Linked DNA regions of Homo sapiens: region 1 is linked to region 2. Evidence: promoter capture Hi-C in 16 types of primary human blood cells and fetal thymus (Javierre and others, 2016). All regions are on one chromosome and are shown on one strand. Each heading gives the region's core, a stretch centred on a gene start or on the middle of the fragment in contact. The rest is flanking DNA. Distances are from core to core; before and after follow the strand shown.

The links. Contacts are between HindIII fragments. The CHiCAGO score rates a contact against its expected background, and 5 or more counts as called.
Region 1: a contact is called between a fragment that was not itself captured here and the fragment with the promoter of ZDHHC3 in region 2, in 1 of 17 cell types (fetal thymus). The highest score is 5.3, in fetal thymus.

What each region holds. Positions count from the first base shown.
Region 1 is chr3:45,694,667-45,697,818 of GRCh38, reverse strand. All of the region lies in intron 1 of SACM1L (SAC1 like phosphatidylinositide phosphatase), which reads right to left. Among named protein-coding and RNA genes, the nearest start is that of SACM1L, 6.8 kb to the right of the region's middle. The HindIII fragment of the contact is 5,170 bases long and covers 1-3,152 here.
Region 2 is chr3:44,974,902-44,978,070 of GRCh38, reverse strand. ZDHHC3 (zDHHC palmitoyltransferase 3) reads left to right here and starts at 1,897. Exons shown (of 7, transcript NM_001135179.2): 1 at 1,897-2,138. EXOSC7 (exosome component 7) reads right to left here and starts at 1,827. Exons shown (of 8, transcript NM_015004.4): 1 at 1,737-1,827. The coding sequence starts at 1,793. RefSeq lists silencers at 1,861-1,930, 2,051-2,150 and an enhancer at 2,373-2,917. The HindIII fragment of the contact is 4,817 bases long and covers 1,500-3,169 here.

The DNA of each region.
Region 1 (3,152 bases), core at 13-2,512, 720 kb before region 2:
GATTAGCCTCCAATTCACTATTAACTCTAACTGAACAAGAATCCTACCAAATATCTGTCAAGACAAGGGGATCCCATACCTACCCAGAGTTCTGGTTCCCATTAATAAGACACATACTATGGAAGATATATCAAAATAGCATAATACTTGTATAATAATTGCTCCTATTTTGACTACCTTCATTCAGTTCGTCATTTTGCTTTTAAGGATTACTGTCCAAGCATGGCATAAAAAAGAAAAAGTGGTTGGATACAGTGCTCATGCCTGTAATCCTAGCACTTTGGGAGGCTGAGGCAGGAGGACTGCTTGAGCCCAGGAGTTTGAGACCAGCCTGGGCAACATGGCAAAACCCCGTTTCTACAAAAAATGCAAAAATTAGCCAGGTGTGGTGGTATGCACCTGTGGCCTCAGCTATTCAGGAGGCTGAGGTCGGAGGATCACTTCAACCTGGGAGGCAGAGGCTGCTCTGAGCCAAGATCGCACCACTACACTCCAGCCTGGGCAACAGAGCAAGAGCCTGTCTTAAAAAAAAAAAAAAAAAAAAAAAAAGGAAAAGAAAAGAAAAACAAAGCAGGAGGATCTTGAGGCCAGGAGTTTGAGACCAGCCTGGTCAACACAGCGAGATCTCATCTCTACAAAAAATGTTGAAATAAAAAAAAAAGAAAGAATCAACACTTAGGTTGCTTCCTCCTTTTTGACTGTTGTGAATAATGCTGCTATGAACAGGGGTATACAAATCCCTCTTTGAGACCTTACTTTTAATTATTTTGAGTATCCCAGAAGTGGAACTGGGACTAAAAGCTAAATGCAACAAAGGCAGTTCTGGTATTACACTTAATACAAATGCATTTAATCTTATAGTCACCTGGGATTCAACAGCTCTTAAGAGTGTTTTTTAAAAAATTAGTCTTGTTAAATTTTAAGAAAAGCAATATCTTTAATTATAATATTAACATCAAATATTTTTATTTTCTTTCAGTGTTGGCATTGCGATTTTCTAGTGTCTGAAAACATTTATCTCTCATGTAACATTCACGTCTTATTTCAGACAACTGATCTCTTTAAAATCCTGTCAAATCAATGAGTAAAACTGGCCCACTACAAAAACATTACTACTTACCAACCTCATACCCATTAAAATGGCTATTATCTAGAAGGAAAAAAAAAACAAACCCAGGATAGAAAATAACGAGTGTTGGCTAGGATGCGGAGACACTGGAATCCTGGTGCTTTGTGGGTGGGAATGTAAAACGGTGCAGCCACTATGGGAAAACAGTATGGTGGCCCATTAAAAATTAAAAATAGAATTCCCATATGACCCAACAATTCCACTTCCGGGTATATACTCAAAATAACTGAAAGTAGGGTTTCAAAAAGGTATTTGTATACTCACATTCATACTGGCATTACTCACAATAGCCAAAAAGGTGGAAGCCACCTATGTGTCTATTAACAAATGAACAAACGAAATGTGGTACATACATATAATGGAATATTATTCAGCCTTAGAAAGGAAATTCTGGGCCAGGCACAGTGGCTCAGGCCTGGAATCCCAACACTCAGGGAGGACGAGGCAGGCGGATCACGAGGTCAGGAGATGGAGACCATCCTGGCAAATGCAGTGAAACCTTGTCTCTACTAAAAATACAAAACAGTAGCTGGGCGTGGTGGCAGGCACCTGAAATCCCAGCTACTTAGGAGGCTAAGGCAGGAGAATTGCTTGAACCCAGGAGGCAGAGGTTGCAGTGGGCCGAGATCGCACCACTGTACTCCAGCATAGGCAACAGAGCGAGACTCCATCTCAAAAAAAAAAAAAAAAAAGGAAATTCTGACACATGCTACACAATGGATGAACCTTAAGGACATTATGCTAAGTGAAATAAACCAGTCATAAAAGGACAAATACTGCCACTTCATGAGGCATCTAGAGAAGTCAAATTTATAGAGACAGAAAGTAGAACGGTGGTTGCCAGGGGCTGGGAGGATACAGAAATGGGGAGTTGTTTAATGGGTACAGAGTTTATTTTTGCAAGATGAAAACGGTTCTGGTGATGGATGGTGATAACGGTTGTACAACATGAATGTGCTTATTGCCCCTGAACTGTATACTTAAAAATGGTTGAGATGGTAAATTTAATGTTTTATTTTACCACAATTTTTAAAAATAATGAAACCACTATTTTGCATAGGAGCCACAGTGATATGTCATAAAACTGTAGCAAGAACATATTCCCTCAAAAATCTTACGTAAAGAATTTGGCTGGGTGCAGTGGCTCATGCCTGTAATCCCAACACTTTGGGAGGCCGAGGCAGGTGGATCACTTGAGGTCAGGAGATCAAGACCAGCCTGGCCAACATGGTGAAACTCTGTCTCTACTAACAATACAAAAATTAGCCGGGCCTGGTGGTGCATGCCTGTAGTCCCAGCTACAAGGGAGGCTGAGGCACAAGAATCACTTGAACCTGGGAGGTGGTGGTTGTGGTGAGCCGAGACTGCGCCACTGCACTCCAGCCTGGGCAACAGAGTGAGACCCCATCTCAAAAAAAAAAAAGAATTAAATCAAGGTCTTAATGATCAAATTTAATACATCTCTGGTTGAAAAGACAGAGGCACAACACTTTACTAGGTTTGGTGAGCAAAAAGAAAACAACTTAGTAAAGAAGGATCCCCTGCACATACTACACTCATAGGCAGAAGGTGCTCCTACCTCCCCCATTCATCCTCCCTTTGGGTATCTCCTCACTGAGCCCTCCCTGGTTGCCTCTCCTATAGCTCAAGTTCATCACAGACTCCCCAGGGGCACAACCCAATTCCAAACCAGTTGGTGTTTCTAGAAAGACTCATTCTAATGCTATCCTCTTTCTCAAAACTCTGTGTTCCCACCTATATCCTATTCCCTGAATGCCCTAAAACCCATTCTCTCAACCAGACTTCTTCACAGGACTAGGTCCAAATTCCACCTAATCTGAAGCTCTAATCCACAGCACAATCTACCAGAGCCCCATATCTTCCAAAGAATTCTCTTCTACCAGCATGTTCTGGTCCTAACTCAGCTATGTATGCCCAGCCCTAAAATATTTCAGAGTGCATAAAAACTACCAGGATAGCTAGTTAAACTTGCAGATTTCCACCGCTCATCCCCAGAGATTTT
Region 2 (3,169 bases), core at 648-3,147:
CCTCCTATCTTTCATTTATTTCACAACCATGTTTTGGCATCCCTGCTGTTTCCCACATAACATGCCAGGAGCTAGATATATGTTGGTAAATAAAATTAACTAATGACCATGGTGGGACTCTGCTGCTGGATAGCTAATGAACTGCCGTGGGAATTAAGGGTGCTGGGGAGAAAGCTCTAACCTTGAGGTTACAGATATATCCATGCCTCAGTGCCACTTTCAGGGATGAAATGTTGAGAGAAAATAGGACACATGACAGAGTCACTACATCATGGTAAGCTCCGGTAACAAAGAAGACCAAAGGTTTTTAAATTTAGAGGAAAACGGTTATCCGTAATGTGTCCCTAAAAAAATACTTTGAGGATAAAAATCACCTGAACAAAGTGTATACAAAAATATAGCAGGGAAAGACATATCTAACTGCTTTTGGGCATTTTTATGCCCCCTCACACACAAATAACATACATGTTACCCTGTAATACACACATATGTCCCACTGTTGTTAATCCTGAATTATAACTAAAATATGCAACTGTGAGTTCTGACTTTATTATCCAGGCATAATATGCTAAATATTGGCATTTCTTCATATATAAAGGGCCCAGAAGATAACGGCAGGTCACGATTTTTAAATGGACATGTCCTTAACTCACGTTGTGGGACTTCAATGATAGCTGGCCGCTTCAATCCGATGGCTACATCACGGGACCACTGACTTTGCAGTTGGTACTGACAGAGGAAAGGCATGAGGAAAAGAGGTAGGAGCTGTCGCCAGAACTCTGCCAAGGATGGGATGAAGAACTCTGATAGGAGGACCACACCGTAGGTTAACAAGTGGAGACACAGCCGGAGGAGGATACAGGGTAGCTCGTTACCAGGTCCAACATTTTTCAACCCTCGTTCTGGAGTGGTCATAACCAGGGATTTAATATAGAACACAGAGGACATTAGGTTATAGCTGCCTAGGGATCTTAGTTCTTCATTGGCAAAATGGAAACAGCACTTAGGCTATCGGCTGCCTAGCCGCTTTTTTTTTGAGACTCGGCTCACTGCAACCTCCGCCTCCCGGGTTCAAGCGATTCTCCTGCCTCAGTCTCCCGAGTAGCTGGGACTACAGGCGTGCGCCACCACGCCCAGCTAAATTTTTTTGTATTTTTAGCAGAGACGGGGTTTCACCATGTTGGTCAGGACGGTCTCTTGACCTCGTGATCCGCCCGCCTCGGCCTCCCAAAGTGCTGGGATTACAGGCGTCCTAGCCGCTTTTTAAAAACCCTTCCCCCTTTATTTGTACGGCAATTTGTATTTTCAAAGTGCGTTCACCTCGCATGCGCCCTCCTAACCACGAGGTGAGGAAAAGCAGGCCAGAAGCCCACCTCCAAACTCCCATTTCCTCGAAGAGAAAACTGAGGCTCGGACAAGATCTGTGCGCGAACGCCGAATGGATGGCCCTGGGGCCGATGCTCTCTCACTAAGAAAAGGCCTCCGAGACTGCCCAAGCTTCCTGCCCGGGTTCGGAATCTTATAGACCCGCAAAACTGCAAATGCGCTAACAGTCCTAAAAACGTCCACGTTGCCAGCTCTGAATTGCAAACGCCGGCAGCAGAACCGTTTAATCACAAGGTAAACGGAGAGTCGCCGCAGCTCGGCTGCCTCCTCACTGGCAAACCCAGGGCAGGCCGCGACCCGCAGGGCCAGGCTGAACCCGGCGGCCGACCCAACGCCGCTGCTGTAGCTACCTGGACGCCATGCACGATGTACACCTTCTCCGCCTCGCTCAGCGTCACGGACGCCATGCTGCCGAGCTGCCCCACGAGCCGCACGTCATCTGCGCGCGTCCCCTCCTCTGGACCGCGCCCCCACGTCCCACCCCCCCCCGCCCCGCGTCAGCGCGTCATCAACCTGCGCGGCGGCCGCTCCTGCAGCCGCGGCCGCCGCCACTGCCGGGAGAGCTCGATGGGCTTCTCCTGCGCGCCGCCCGGTGTCTGGCCGAGTCCAGAGAGCCGCGGCGCCTCGTTCCGAGGAGCCATCGCCGAAGCCCGAGGCCGGGTCCCGGGTTGGGGACTGCAGGGGAAGGCAGCGGCGGCGGCGGCGGGAGCCCCACCGGGGTCTGGGACTGGGGAACTGCCTCCGGCTTCACGGTCAGTTGGGAAGGGAAACTGGGGTAGGGGTGAAGAAGCTGGGGTGAGGCGAGCCTCACGGGCCGGGGGACTCCCAGTGGGAGAGGCGTGCGGCGTAGTTGCTCAGAGCTGGAGTTGACTTAGGAGCGTGTGTGTGTGTGTGTGTGTGTGTGTGTGTGTGAGAGAGAGAGAGAGAGAGAGAGAGACCCCGACTAAGGAGGGGCGGACGTCGTGATTGGCCCGGGGGTGCTGTTTCCCTGCTCTTCTCCCCTCCATTTCTCTAGTCCCTAGGATGGCTGGAGAGGCGATGCAGCCCTCCCTAGGTAGTTCTTGGTGGGAAGGGTCCGGGAATGGGGGACACTAGTCCTAAGGCGTCCCCACCCCTCCACCCAGGAATATCTCTCGCTGGCTCGCTCACTCTCTGTGACCGAACGCTGTCCCATTACCTTGCTGGGACCTCTTGCCTCGGGTGCTTACCAGAGCGTTGTCCCACAGACGGGGGAGGAGGCGCTTGGTAACCGGCACTGGCGAGGTGCGCAGTGCCCGGACGTCCCCAACGCTTCCTAGCGGGAACTGGAAACCCCGGCTTGATGGAAGTGATTACTGGGAGCTGTGAGCAGTTGCCCGAAAAAAAGCCAACCCCAACCCCTTGCGATGGCCGAGTGGGAGTATGGGCATTGGATACCCGGAGAGGATATCTGCAAGGTGAAGCTGGGGTCACCAAAGGAACTCATTAAGGCGGGGCTGACAAAGTATGGTGCAAGTTTTAAAGGAGCCGTGTGGATAAATGGGAGAAAGTTAACCCAAATTAGTTGAAGCAAGGAGGGCAGGTTAAAGCAATTCTGATGACTTTCCTGATGTTCCATTTTTGAGGACCCTCAGCCAAAAAAAAAAAAAAATGGTATTTATCAGATAGTGGGTTCAAATACAGTTTCAGATAACTATTGGGAGCCTACTATAGATAGGCTTTGTGCTACCTTTAGAACACAAGACAAGTAAAACATACTATGCCCAGAGAAGTTCCCTGGGCAGATGAAGGCTCCAGGGCCAAC